3 separate regions of the Homo sapiens genome follow, and regions 2 and 3 are each linked to region 1. Evidence: promoter capture Hi-C in 16 types of primary human blood cells and fetal thymus (Javierre and others, 2016). All regions are on one chromosome and are shown on one strand. The core of a region is centred on a gene start or on the middle of the fragment in contact, and the rest is flanking DNA. Distances in the headings are between cores, read along the strand shown. Region 1 holds the start of PTGER4 (prostaglandin E receptor 4). Region 2 has its middle 19 kb from the start of LINC00603. Region 3 has its middle 83 kb from the start of LINC00603.

What was found. Contacts are between HindIII fragments. The CHiCAGO score rates a contact against its expected background, and 5 or more counts as called.
Region 2: a contact is called between a fragment that was not itself captured here and the fragment with the promoter of PTGER4 in region 1, in 3 of 17 cell types (total CD8 T cells, naive B cells and total B cells). The highest score is 7.1, in total CD8 T cells.
Region 3: a fragment that was not itself captured here is called in contact with the fragment with the promoter of PTGER4 in region 1 in 1 of 17 cell types (total B cells); the score reaches 5.5 in total B cells.

What each region holds. Positions count from the first base shown.
Region 1 is chr5:40,677,072-40,682,011 of GRCh38, forward strand. It overlaps PTGER4 (prostaglandin E receptor 4), which reads left to right and starts at 2,844. Exons shown (of 3, transcript NM_000958.3): 1 at 2,844-3,407; 2 at 3,880-4,789. The coding sequence starts at 3,923. RefSeq lists a silencer at 2,507-2,726 and an enhancer at 3,862-4,389. The HindIII fragment of the contact is 6,362 bases long and covers 1,007-4,940 here.
Region 2 is chr5:40,068,356-40,073,295 of GRCh38, forward strand. No RefSeq gene overlaps it. Among named protein-coding and RNA genes, the nearest start is that of LINC00603, 19 kb to the left of the region's middle. The HindIII fragment of the contact is 2,630 bases long and covers 906-3,535 here.
Region 3 is chr5:40,132,341-40,137,280 of GRCh38, forward strand. No RefSeq gene overlaps it. Among named protein-coding and RNA genes, the nearest start is that of LINC00603, 83 kb to the left of the region's middle. The HindIII fragment of the contact is 1,863 bases long and covers 997-2,859 here.

The DNA of each region.
Region 1 (4,940 bases), core at 1,594-4,093:
CCTGATAGATGCCTTTCACACTGTTTTGAGTCTCTGCATGGCCTGTCATGAAAGAGAAAAGCAAACACAATTTGCACAGGCTTTGCTACATGAATATTAGTGCTTCAGGAATGCTCTAAGATCCTGCCAGCTGCGGCTCAGGAAGGGGTCCAGGCCAGATCTGACTCATCCTGCTGCCTTCCTCCTGGAAATGATCCCCTTTCTCACCCCACTCCTGCTGGCTGAGCCCAGGTCCTGTCTGTCCCATATTTCCTTTGATCCAAGGAAAACTAAAAGTGGTTACTAGCTCCCAAGCGGCCTTTGTTTATAAATGGGTTCCCACCTTAATATGTTTACTCAAAAAACTCGTCAAATAATTAGCTATAACAGAGCAATCAAACTGATCAAACAGTTCTTGGAGTAGTTCAAACCTTCAGAGAGTTATTTAATGACAGTTTTAAATAACTGAACTGGGGTCTTCCAGCATAGAGAAGTAGGGATTGTGGCAGAAACTGCGAGGGAGAATTTTTAAAGTGCTTAGAATAAAAATCTTTTCATTGAAAAAAAATGACAAGAATTGCCCACATAATTATGGCAATTTTTCCTTTCCTTTTGCAATGCAAATTCCTGGCAGAGTGTAAGAGAAACTGAGCTCCACTGTCCCAGTTTTTCAAACTAAGAAAATAAAATAATTTGCTACCTAAACTTTCAACTTCTACTTTTGAAAGCTAAATTTAAGTTTTAAGAATCGTACAACAAAAGAGACTACAGATAAACCTCATTACAATTTTTTAGTATTGAGCATTAGGTTATTTATTTTCCTTCTTCCTAAAGCTACTGTAGAAAGAAAATTCAAAGGACTAGTAAGAAAAATAGCTCAATTGATAACAAGTCTGGTTTGTCAATGACATGCTAATACCTGTAACAGTTACTAATTATCTCAGCAGTGTGTCTCAGTTTTTATATTTAATATATTCTTCATCATTCTTAAATTAATAAATAGCAACCAATTGTTTTCTCTTTTACAAGCTTCATATGGAAAGAAAATTGAAAAAAAAAATTTGTATTAGCAGAAAGTGAATATAAGGGACTTCCCAACCTCCCCTCCATATATTTACTGACAAGCAACTGACATGAGTGATAGCAAAGCAATGTGGTTAGTGAGGAATGGCGCAGAGTGTGCAGTTTCCTTTTTTCTAATGTTGATTTGTTTTCTGTGCTGACACAATCCTAGAGGTTACTGTTCAAAGGAAGCATCGACAACAGAAGTGATTAGAGTACTGATTAAAAGAAGATTTTTAAGAAAATGACCAATCACCATCAATCTTAATATTGGCTAACAAATGTGTATTTTTCTTTCTCATATTATTAAGTAAATAGTATAAACAGAATAATTCTTTATTAGTATATCCATATAGTGCCTTTTGCAAGTAAATATGATTCTGGATATTTTATGACCTGTAATTACTTGAAATCGGAAAGCCCTTTTAGTTTCTCTTATTACCCATGTGTTGCTGAGACTAACTGAAGAACCAGTTAGGAGGTTTGTTCGTTCACGAAATAACATTTAAGAAATGGGTACCTGCTTATCACATAAAAGAATCCAGTTATTTACTTACCCTGTGAGGAGACATAATATGTTAGAATGCTTGTACACTGCAGATGGGAAGAGGTTTTTCCAGGAATTTAAATTGTGCAATAAGGCCACACAATCTTACTTAAAAAAAATGGTGAAGGGGTTTTAATTACACCATGAAGTTTTACAATTTTTTAGGTTTTTAGTTCTGGTTTTAGAAAACAGAGTAGAAGGATTACAGAGAAAAACTTCACCATTAGACAAGAAGTCAAAATGATTCTAAGGGCCGCGCAAACAGGCTTTTCCAAGAATTAATCATGAGGTGGTGCTTGGAGAATTCCTTTACTCCAGTGACTTTGAAACCCCCTTCTCACTCTCCACTAGTCTTTCAAAGGATTCATGGTGAATTGGGTCTAACGAGTATAACACGGCCGGCCGAAGGCATGAAGCTCACGCTACCCTTTCAGGGCGGAGAAGTTCCCAGGAGGAAGAATGGAGAAAAAGATCGCAGTTAGGCAGTCCTCCCAACCTCACCAAGGCTCCACCTCTCTCCAAAGCCGCAAGGCTCTGCCACCTGCGCCGGGAGAGGCTGCAATCACTGTCTCCTCCTCTTTCTTTCTCTTTTTTTTTTTTCTTTTTTGCCTGGGGTGCCCGACCAAGCGCAGCCCGCAGTCTGGGCACTGCCAACTGACTCCAACTCCTTTTATGGTGAGAGGATGGATTCTTCGTTATTTCCCCGCCCAATCTGGTACCCACCCACCCACCCACCTACCACGTCCGCTGGGCGCACCCAAGTCTAACCCCGGGGCGCACGCGCTAGCGCAGACACCGTATTTCTTCTCCTTTCTCGGCCAACCCTAGGTAGAATCCTAAAACAACTGCCCTCTCTTCCACGATCTAGATGTTGCGGCCCGCGGACAGGAGGTTCAAGAAATAGTACACTCCGAGCGGCAGGCAGCGAGGCGGAAACGGTCGCCGGTTTCAGTGGTGGCCCCACTGGAAGCCGAGTTCAGGAGCGGCTAAGCGGTCGCCGGGGAAAGCACCGGGGCTTCCCAGGGTCCCCTCCGAGTTCCCACTCCGCACCTCCGAGGGCGTGAAAACCACGGGAGCCGCCCCACCCCGCGCGCCCAGCCCCGCCCCAGCCCAGACACCGCCCCCCGCCAGTCTTCCCTGCGGCGCCCAGGGAGGACGCGCTCCGCCCCCTTCCAATCCGGCCAATGGGCGCCCGGGCAGCGCGCGGTTTGCCTCCGCCTCCGCCAGGGAAACTTGGAGGAGGAGAAAAGTTTGTACAGAGGGTGGAAAGGCGAGAGCGGAGCTCCAAGCCCGGCAGCCCGAGAGGAAGATGAACAGCCCCAGGCCAGAGCCTCTGGCAGAGTGGACCCCGAGCCGCCCCCAGGTAGCCAGGAGCGGCCTCAGCGGCAGCCGCAAACTCCAGTAGCCGCCCGTGCTGCCCGTGGCTGGGGCGGAGGGCAGCCAGAGCTGGGGACCAAGGCTCCGCGCCACCTGCGCGCACAGCCTCACACCTGAACGCTGTCCTCCCGCAGACGAGACCGGCGGGCACTGCAAAGCTGGGACTCGTCTTTGAAGGAAAAAAAATAGCGAGTAAGAAATCCAGCACCATTCTTCACTGACCCATCCCGCTGCACCTCTTGTTTCCCAAGTTTTTGAAAGCTGGCAACTCTGACCTCGGTGTCCAAAAATCGACAGCCACTGAGACCGGCTTTGAGAAGCCGAAGATTTGGCAGTTTCCAGACTGAGCAGGACAAGGTGAAAGCAGGTTGGAGGCGGGTCCAGGACATCTGAGGGCTGACCCTGGGGGCTCGTGAGGCTGCCACCGCTGCTGCCGCTACAGGTGAGATGGCGTTGGGCTGACGTTGGGGTCAACGGGTAGAGAACGCAGGGATGCGGCCCTCGCCGAAGAGAGCCAAGAAGGGAAGAGCGCGCTCTCCAAATTGCTTTTGTAACTTGTTTTCAGTGAGCATTTTATTGATTCAGAATCTATCGAGAATAGCACTAGCGAGCTACTTTTCCCTTGAGATGGGTCTTATTCATCTTGGCAATGGAGTGAGTTGGATTGTGGGGAGGAAGAGGAATGGGAAAATCAGTTTATAAATATTAATGTCAGCAAGAGTGTGCTGTTGGCAGGACGTATCGCGAGCCTGGAGATTTTGGTGGCCGCAGTTGGTAAGTGGCTACAATCCAGAAAGTAGGATCGAGTTGCTCCCCTTGTCTTATCAGTGTATCGTTTCTCGGGCGCGGGTCTAACACCTTACAAGTGGTAATTTCCGCTCACGGCAGCTTTGTCTCTCTTCTACCATCCCCAGACCCAGCCTTGCACTCCAAGGCTGCGCACCGCCAGCCACTATCATGTCCACTCCCGGGGTCAATTCGTCCGCCTCCTTGAGCCCCGACCGGCTGAACAGCCCAGTGACCATCCCGGCGGTGATGTTCATCTTCGGGGTGGTGGGCAACCTGGTGGCCATCGTGGTGCTGTGCAAGTCGCGCAAGGAGCAGAAGGAGACGACCTTCTACACGCTGGTATGTGGGCTGGCTGTCACCGACCTGTTGGGCACTTTGTTGGTGAGCCCGGTGACCATCGCCACGTACATGAAGGGCCAATGGCCCGGGGGCCAGCCGCTGTGCGAGTACAGCACCTTCATTCTGCTCTTCTTCAGCCTGTCCGGCCTCAGCATCATCTGCGCCATGAGTGTCGAGCGCTACCTGGCCATCAACCATGCCTATTTCTACAGCCACTACGTGGACAAGCGATTGGCGGGCCTCACGCTCTTTGCAGTCTATGCGTCCAACGTGCTCTTTTGCGCGCTGCCCAACATGGGTCTCGGTAGCTCGCGGCTGCAGTACCCAGACACCTGGTGCTTCATCGACTGGACCACCAACGTGACGGCGCACGCCGCCTACTCCTACATGTACGCGGGCTTCAGCTCCTTCCTCATTCTCGCCACCGTCCTCTGCAACGTGCTTGTGTGCGGCGCGCTGCTCCGCATGCACCGCCAGTTCATGCGCCGCACCTCGCTGGGCACCGAGCAGCACCACGCGGCCGCGGCCGCCTCGGTTGCCTCCCGGGGCCACCCCGCTGCCTCCCCAGCCTTGCCGCGCCTCAGCGACTTTCGGCGCCGCCGGAGCTTCCGCCGCATCGCGGGCGCCGAGATCCAGATGGTCATCTTACTCATTGCCACCTCCCTGGTGGTGCTCATCTGCTCCATCCCGCTCGTGGTGAGTGACCGGGGCTGGGGCCCTACTCGGCCTTTTTCTCGCATCCACCTCCCGCGTCCATTCCCCGCTCCCTGCTTTCCCTCTGAGTCCTTGGCAGTGAACGTGTCGCCTTTAGGTCGGGGCTGGGATTCCCACACTGTTTCTCAGAGCA
Region 2 (4,940 bases), core at 971-3,470, 610 kb before region 1:
CTAGGATACTCAGCTCTCTTCAGTGCCCAGAAAAGAAAGTGCTATAACACAGTGCTGGTGACCTTGTAGGCAAATTCCTACACAAAAGGCCCTTGTGTATAGTACACAGGATCATAAGTTATTACTAACACTCTCTTCTCTTTACCTTATTATGTTTTTCACTAGTCCCAGGGACTATGGGCACTGCACATTTTTTAAAGCTAATAGTGAAGAGTACTTATAAGTCAAACACATGAATGTATAAGCCCATATAATTCTTTGGTTGATAACAAAACACATAGCAAAAGCTAAATAGTATGAATTATAAAAATTCCGAAGATAATATTTTGTTGAGGTTTAAGAAATTATCAGCTCATGGCGAAACCCTGTCTCTACTAAAAATACAAAAAATTAGCCGGGGGTGGTGGCGGGCGCCTGTAGTCCCAGCTACTGGGAGGCTGAGGCAGGAGAATGGTTTGAACCCTGGAGGTGGAGCTTGCAGTGAGCTGATATCCTGCCACTGCACTTCAGCCTAGGCGACAACTGCACTCCAGCCTGGGAAACAGAGCGAGACTCCATCTCAACAAACAAACAAACAAACAAACAAACAAAAACAACAAAAACATTATCAGCCCAATAGTAGTTCAAAGTGCCACTGAATCTTTTTAAAAAATTTTTCAATCACGAAGTAGTCATTCACAAAAGATTCAGGCTTTGGATGGTAGCAGATGCTGCTGCTATGTCTATCCCCTGAAATGACTGGCTAGGTTGCTATATATCCACAAAAATGAATGGAGGATAACAAGCCAGAGTTATATCCACAGCTTTATTGCAGAACCCTTCCTGTGCACAGCAGAGTCTGGACTTTCATGCATGATGTGACAGTGGAGCTATCTCTCCTGAAGCCAGGAGAAAAATCCGCATCAAGCTTCTGTGGTGTGTCAGTATCAGGCACCCAACTGTTGGTAAAACAAAGGAAGCTGTCTCTACAACCAACTAGGAAAAAGAGGAATCTGGCTTTAATTTTAAATCCCCTGCTCAACTAGACCTTATGTAAACAGACAACAACCCTCTACTCCCAAGCAAGATCTTAGTGCTATACTCCTTAACAAACTTGTATTTTTAATCACCATACAAAATAGCATACGTTGATATTGTAAACAAAACATAGTACTTATTTGTGTATCATCTGCTTAAATCCTTCCAATAGTTTCCCATTCTATAGGAATATGAAACTTCCTTATCCTAGCTCACAGAGCACCACATAATATGGCCCATTTTTCTTTCTTTGGCCTCCTCTCTTATACTCCTTACTTTACTCTCTCTTTTCCAGCCACCTTGGCCTTCTTTGTTTCCTCCAAACCACCAAGTTTATTGCTCCACAAGAGCCTTTGCTCTAGCCATACTCTCTGATGGTAGAGATGCCTGTCCCCAGTTTTTTTTCCCAGCTGGCTGCTGCTTGTTAGTCAGATCTCGGGTCACTGTCACCTTCAACAGCAAGGTTCTCTCAACCATCCAACCAATGTAGATGTCTTGACACTGATTATCATATTGCCTATTTAATTATTTTCATTGCACACATCACTACCTGATGATTTTGTCACTTGATTATTTATTTTTATCTATTTATTATCCATCAGTGCTCCCCCCCAAAAAAATGCAAGTTATATGAAAATAAAAAACTATCACAGTCACTGATATAAGCCCAGTGCTTACCTGATATGTAGGTACTGTGGTTTGAATGTGTCCCCTCCAAAATTCGGGTGTTGCCAACATGATAATATTAAGAGGTGGGACCTATAAGGCATGACATTTTAAAAATTTGTTATGTTTTTAAAATCTTTTAAATCTTGAAGTATTCATTCACAAAAAAGCATTTAGATGGCAGCAGATTCTGCTGCTACATCTATACCCTAAAACAATTGGCTAGGTTACTAGATAGCTACAAGAATGAATGGAGGATAACAAACCAGAGGGCAAAGTCAATGCATGAAGCCAGGAGGGATCTACCCTTGTACATGGGATTAGGTGTCCTTTAAGGGGCTTCATGGAGGGACTTGATTCTCTCTCACCTTTCTGCCTTCTGCACGTGAGAACAAGGCAAAACAGTCCTTACCAGATGCCAACACATTGATTTTGTTCTTTCCAGCCTCCAAAACTGTGAGAAATGAATTTCCTATTTTAAAAAATTGCCCAGTTTGTGGTACTCTGTTATAGCAGCACAAATGAACTAAGATGGAAATTAGTACTAAGGAGCTAGGTGTTGCTCTAACAAGCACCTGAAAATGTGGAAGTGGCTTTGGGACTGGATAATTGGTAGAGGCTGAAACAGTTGTGAAGTGAATGATGTAAAAAGCCTATATGGCCATAAACAGATTAAGGATGATTCTAGTCAAGGCTCAGAAGAAGAGCTGTGGGGCAAAGCTCAGTCTTTTGAGAGATTTCTTCACTGGTTGTGGCAGTGGAGATTATTCTGATGAGGTCTCAGATGGAAATTAGGAACAATGTACTGGAGACTGGAGGAAAGGTCATCTTTGTTATAAAGTGGAAAGGAACTTGGCTGAATTGTGTCTATGTTCTAGGACTTTTCAGAAGACAGAGCTTAAGAACGATGAACTAGAATATTTCACAGAAGAAATCGCTAAGCAGAAAAGTGTTCAGGATGCTGCATGGCTTCTCTTAACAGGTTATAGTAAAATGCAAAAAGAGAGAAATGATTTAAAGACAGGATATATACTTAAAGGGAAAGGAGAATGTACAGATTTGGAAAATTCTCAGCCTGGGCATGTAAAGAATAAAAAGGCAATTTTAGGAGAGAAAATCAAGGGCATGGCTAAGCAAACATTTGATAAGATTAGTACGGCTAGAAGGAATCCAGATGCTATTCATCAAGACAATGGAAGCATGACCTCAAAGGGGTTTTTGAGATCTTCAAGGCTTCCATTCCTATCACAAGCCCAGAATGCTAGGGTCTTAGGGTCAGAAAGGATTCAGGGGATGGGTCCAGTGTCTGTGGGACCTAGCTTCCCAAGGCCTCCTTAGATCTCTGTTCCCTGCATCCTGGCATAGCACTCTTTGGGCACCCTAGATATGGCTCAAGCTGGCCCAGGTGCAGCCTGGACCACCACTCCAGAAGGTGTAAACAATGAGCTTTGGCAATGATCATGTGGTGCTAATTCTGTAGGTGTGTAGAGTTCGGAGCTGTGGAGGCATGGCTGCCTCTACCTATATTTCAAAGATGTCTCAGACAGCCTTAAATCCCAGGCAGGTACCTGCCCCATGGGTGGTGCTATGGCAGAGAATTCTCACTAGGGCAATGCTGAGTGGCTATGTGGGGGCAGGGCCATCCTTGAGAAAGACATCTTTAACTGTAAAGCCACCAGCACGTAGTGTCAGGCTAAGATCACCATAGGCATATGCCTTCAATGCATGACAGTTGAAGCCAGGGTTGCACCCAGCAAAGCCATGGGATGGGGCTGCTTGAGGCCTTGGGGGCCCAACTGTCATTCTAGCATATCCAGAAGGTGGGACATGGAGTGAAAGAAGATTATTTTCAAGCTTTAAGATTTAATGCTGTTAGCCCTGTTGAGTATTCAACTAACTTGGGATCTATTACTCTTTTCTTCTTTTGTTCTATCTTTCCCTTTTGGAATGGGAATGTTTACCCTATGCCTGTCTCAACATTGTGTTTTGGAAACATGTAATGTTTGATCTCACAGGCTCACAGCTGGAGGGATATTTTCCTCAGGATGAATCATGCCTTGAGTCTTATTCATATCTGATTTACATGAGACTTTGGACTTAAACTTTCAAGTTGAAGCTGGAATGAATTAAGAATTCTGGGGCTATTGAAATAAAATAAATGTATTTTATATGTGAGAAAGACATGAATTTTGAGGGACTATGAGTGGAATGCTTTATAGTTTGAATCTATCCCCTGGTGGGGACTGTAAGAGGTGATTAGGCCATGAGGAATCCTCCCTCATGAATGAGATTAGGTGCCTTTATAAAGGTGCTTGATTAAGGGAGTTGCTTCTGTCTTGCCCTTCCATTTTCCACCATGTAAAGACATAGCAAGAAAGGGCTCAGCAGATACCAGCAACTTAATCTTCAACTTCCCAGCCTCGAGAACTGTGAGAAATAAATTTCTTTCCCTTATAAATGACCTGTTCTGTGGTATTCAGTTATAGGGGCACAAATAGGCTAGTATAGTAGTTAATAAATATATATTTGTTGAATAAAAGAATGAAGACATGAAAGAATAAATGTTTTATTTTCTCTTCTGACAACATGACATAGAAAGCCAGCATATTTTATATTTGTTTTTATCAGCTCCACTACTTTTCACTGGATCTTTTACAAATCCCATTTCAGGGTGATCTCAGGAGTCCTTTCCCATCTACTCCAATTCACTCATGTCCTCCTCTTCTTTGGAGTCCATAATCCAAAATATTTGTGCAATTCAGCTGCAATGATAAATACTCCAAATGCCATGTTCCCACCTAAAGTAGCTCAGAAAGGAGGCAGCACAAAATCTAGAGGGCAAAAGGAAGGCTTGGTTCTGGAATACTCTTCTCTGCCTAGATCCTTATTTAAGACCACTGTAAACAAAAGAGGATCCAGTTACTGAAGATCTCACACATTTGTATTCTGCAGAAGAAACTGAAGAGCCACTCGTTCCATATCACTGTACTATCAGAATAATCTAAAAGGATCACTTAAGTTTATCTGTATCCAGAGCCAAATACTGTTGTTCATGATCAATTATGCTGCTTTGAGTTCTTGATGTGTTTTCAAAACCAGGAGAAACTAAATAGAATATGGTATCTGTTCTATTACCTCATCCAAGATCAAGCCCTGGATGAGGTAACATTAACACAAGGACTTCTAAATAGAAATGCAGTAGAGGAGACAATTATGGGTCCTAATGCAATGTAGATGATTTCTTTGGTAATGAATAC
Region 3 (4,940 bases), core at 678-3,177, 550 kb before region 1:
ACCTGAAAGGTATATTTGTTCCCCATTTCTTTACGTTTCTCCTTTTCTTTTTTCTCTTTCTTTCTTTCTTTCTTTCTTTCTTTCTTTCTTTCTTTCTTTCTTTCTTTCTTTTTTGGAGGTACTGAGCTATGGCCTAGGGTTTATTATAGAGGTACAAGTGTGCTGATTGTAGGTGGGACTTCATAGTGTGTCACCACTGAGTGTTTCACCTGTCTTATGTGTCTCAGTTTCTCTCTTAGGACATCTAGAACCTCAGAGAGGGCTCAAAACATTAAGTGATCAGCTCTTAAATGTGTTTCCTGAACAAGCCTTTATAACTAATTTTGTTGGGGGTTCCCTGTGAGAAAAAGCAATGGAGAAGAACCTTTAGAATGCACCTCTGAACTAGAATTAGGATCCCAAACAACTACTTCCTAGGAGCAAAAAAAGAAAACAATAGCTCAGAATAAATGAAGGACTCTCAACCAACGGGGGGGCCAGGGCTCAGGAGAACTTACCAGTTCCACCAGAGGAGAAGCTCAAAGTCAGGGAGGGCTTTCAGTGGGTCCCTGCTGGTACCTTAGTTACAAATTTGGAGACCTGAGTCTTGCCTAAGACCCCATATGTTTGGTGCCAAATTATTGTCAAGGAAAAGAGTCAAACTGTGTGAAATACTTGAAGAGATTTATTCTGAGCCAAATGTGAGTGACCAATGGCCCATGACACAGCTCTCAGGAGATCCTGAGAACATGTGCTCACGGTGGTTGGGGTACAGCTTGGTTTTATATATTTTGGGAAGACACGAGACATCAGTCAATCCATGTAAGAGGGACATTGGTTTAGTCTGACAAGGCAGAACAACTGGAAGTGGGGGCTTCCAAGTCATAGGCAGATTAAAAAATCCTCTGATTGACAATTGATTGAAAGAGTTACTATCAATAGAAAGGAATGTCTGGGTTACAATAAGGGTTTGTGGAGACTATGGTTTTATTATGCAGGTGAAGCTTCCAGGTAGCAAGCTTCAGAGAAAATAGATTGTAACTATTTCTTATGAGACTCAAGGATTCTGTTCTATTAGTAATTCCAAAAGGGAGGGGAATATACTGAGGCATGTTCAACTCTCCTTTCCATCATGGCTTGAACTAGTATTTTAGGTTAGTTTTGGAATGCCCTTGCCAAGAGGGAGGATCCATTCCGATGGTTGGGGGACTTAGAATTTCAGTTTTGTTTTAGACTTCCCAAAGACCCCACTCTCTAATATAATCACATTGGGGGTTAAGATTTTTGCATATGAATTTTTTGAGGACAAAAACATTCAGTTCATAATATTGAGACAACGGCTCTTGAGAATAATTGGCTACTCAAGATACACCATCTGATCTCATTTATAGAATAAATTACTCTTTGGACTAGTTGATCTTTTAATCTGTGAGTATCAATCATAAAGTAATTTGTAACAGTGAAATCAAGAAAGGATTAAAACTCAAGAACTTCTCCCTCTCACACACACGCAATGTTCAGCTTAATAACTGCAATCCTGAAAACTACTATTTCTAATTTGAAAATATTGTTGGAGAGGAAAATATTGTTATCAATCAAGTAGTAACATAAATATCTTTGGGAAATTCCCTGAAATAAACTATAAGCCATCATTCTCTGTAAATCTTTCTTTTCTCAGAATGATTTTTCCCTCAATTGAAATCTAAACTTGTGTTAGTGAATACCATAAATTTAAAGAATACACAGTTCAAACTCTGAAAGCATGCTCGTCTCCAAACTATAAAAATCTTATAAATATCAAATACCCCTTATGATGATGTAGCAGAATGTGTTATGTGCTGCATTTCCCAGGACAAAGGATTCGGCCAGCTGCACTTCCTTCTTCTTTCAGCTGCCTATCACCTCCCCTTTTCCTCAGAGTCTGTAATGTCTACCTCCTTTACTGGTGTCACAGTCAAATGTAGCAAAACTCTTTCTTTATTGAAACTTTCAAATCACTGAGAAAGAGATGATTTCAAACCCAGCCATGGGAGCCTTTCCTGATTAAGAAGTTTGCTGTCAATTATCAAGTAAATTTTTCAAAAAAAGAAATATGTTGGTGCTGAATCATATATAACCTGTCCCGTGGAGAACTTAGTTCTCTGGGTGGGTATCTATTTTTTTCTAATTTGTTGAAAGTCAAAAAGATCAGTGAAGGTGGACAAGAAAGAAAATGAACAAAGAACATATGTCAGGCCCATGCAAGCAGAAGCTGAGCCTAAGAGCAAGCTCCAGGGGCCTCTACTGTTCCAGCAGAGATGGAGGTTAGGTGAATCAGCAGTCACCCCAGAGAAGGCCTGCAGAGTGACAGCCTAGGGTCTAGTGGGCCACATACAACACACTTACACTATACTCCTTTAGACCAACAGTATGGGGTGACAAAATTGGTTGGATATGAAGTTAGGAGACGTCCAACAAACTGTGAGATTTGGGGCCAATTGCCTAAATTCCATAGGCCTCAGCTTTCTCTGTTAAAAGCAGAGGTCAATAAGAGAAGTGGCTTTGAAACTTTTTAAAAAAATAGCTATTTTCTCCCCAAATGACAGATAGGTAGATGATAGATAGATAGATAGATAGTTTTACTATTTGAAACAGAGAGAAGTGAAGCTATTTAAGGGTACTGGACAGGAGTAACCCGATTCCCTGACTTTCCTCTTCTTGCCCCTTAATCCCAGTGGCTACTGAATCACTTCCATGGAGATTTTAGAGAACACTGGAGCGCAGTTTGGAAGGCCTTGCCAGGAAGCCACCTCAGGTCACATCATTTTAGATTTATTTTTCTAATGTGAAGAAAGTATTCATTAGATAGGGAAAGAAAATAAGAAATTTCTGATAAAAGCAAGCTTGGGCAAAGGTCAGAAATGGCCAATAAGTCATTTTTAAACTGTGTTACTTTCTACAAGCTACAGCCAGTGCATTTTCCCATGACCTAGAAGTCTAAGGAGTTGATGTTATGAAATATGGCTGGGTAAACTGAAAGAACCCAACTCTAGGGTGCTGGCATTAACTGTGATGTTTTGCAAGTTTTCTCACATTCCTATGTTTTCGTTTTTTTATTTGCACAGTCAGACAATATCTACCTCATATAGTTGTTTTGAAAATTTGATGAAGTGATTTATGAGAGTTTAGGGTAGAAGCTGACACACAGTAAGTACTGAGGGAATTATTGTTTTTATTGATGATGTTAATAAAGACATGCTGTGCTATCACTGCAAATATCAGCACAGCTTTTACTTCTGCATGACATTGAGGAGGCCACAAAAACTGACTGAACTCAAAGTCTGGCTACATGGTGGCCCCAAAATAAGGCATGACTGTTATTAAAGTAACAAGGAAAATCATAAGTCAAATAAGGAGTTACATTATCAATATGCAATTCTGCTAATGTTTCTTCTCAAAACTATATTTATTAATGTAATAGGTTTAGGTACCAATTTGAAATTATCATTTTCATATTTTACTGAATATTAAATGTCTTTTGAAATACAAAGGAATGGATTTTCAGAATTGCAGCTCTGAAAATTTCACATTCAGAGAAATTTCACATTCAGAGAAAGGCTAATTCAATTCTCTTGATTTTTCAGATTAATAAACCTATAAGCATTTAATATGCCACTTTAAACACTGTATTATATGAAATAGGCTCACAAGATATGGATGTACAAATTTAGGGTGCTTAAATATTAATTCACAATAAATTTTGTATCAGTTATGGATCTTGACAACCAAGTTAGCATCATCACTGTATTCTTTCTGTCTAAGCAAGTTGGAAAATTAGATAAGAAGTTGAATTCTAATTAAAGAGTTGTTTCAAATGCATGGAAGTTAGGTATAGAACTCAAACATGTGGCTACTCTACTTGGGGAAACTGAATTGTGCAAATTTACCCAGCCTTGGGTTGATAGAACCCTGAGTAGAGCCCACATCTGTTTGACTCCAACAATTATACTCAGTATTAATGACGATGACACTGTACTGGATGTTGTGAAAGATAAAAGAGAAGTATGTTGCCCTCAGAGAGCTTGTAATCCCACTGGGAAGCACCTCTCACATTTATTGTACTATTAGCAAATCATATAAGGCAATATCTAATCAATGCCCAAGGCCCAGGTGTTAATTACAGTAAGAAAAAGTACAATAAAATCCAGAAGAGTCAAGGAAATTCTTCAGAAAGGAGTTAGTCAGAATATAAAAGATGAGAATCCTAGCTAGAGGTCTATCAAAATTGTTTACCTTTGCTCATGTTTGAGTTCACAGCTGCTCGTGAGAAGTTAGAATATAGTTGGTTTGGGGATGCAAGTTTTTGTCATAGTGTAATACGTTTTCATGAGGTTCATTTATATATAGTAGACATTAGCGAAAGTGCTGTACTAGGACACCATCTTCCCAAAAGTACATATCATCAATTATCTTTAATAATAAATGAGTAGCAATTCGCTTGAATTGTCTTGTATTGTTTCTCAATCATAAAACCAGCTGAGAAACAAAAGGTATGTGTAACCTTTCATTGCAGATTAAAATTGCCCTAACACAAAGGTTCCCAATGGAGAAGATTATCACCCTGCAGAGGACATTTGGCAATGTCTGAAGACATGTTTGAGAGTCTCCTTTGGGGTAAAATGAAGTGCCACTGGCAAATAATAGGTTAAAATACAGAGATCTTGATATCCTCCAATGCACAAGACAGCTCCTCTCTATAAGAATTATCCAATATGAAGAATTATCCATCATGCTGAAGTGGGAAAACTAGGCCAAGGCTAAAGAAATATCCTGTATAAGGTTACCAGTGCTCAGCCCCCAGACACATTAAAGGCCCTCTAGTTTGAGATTCCTCTATTTCCCCCTACCACCCTAACCTACACCCTACACCCTAATTCTTAACTTGAATCAAGATTTGTATTCTACAAAAAGAAAAAAAGATT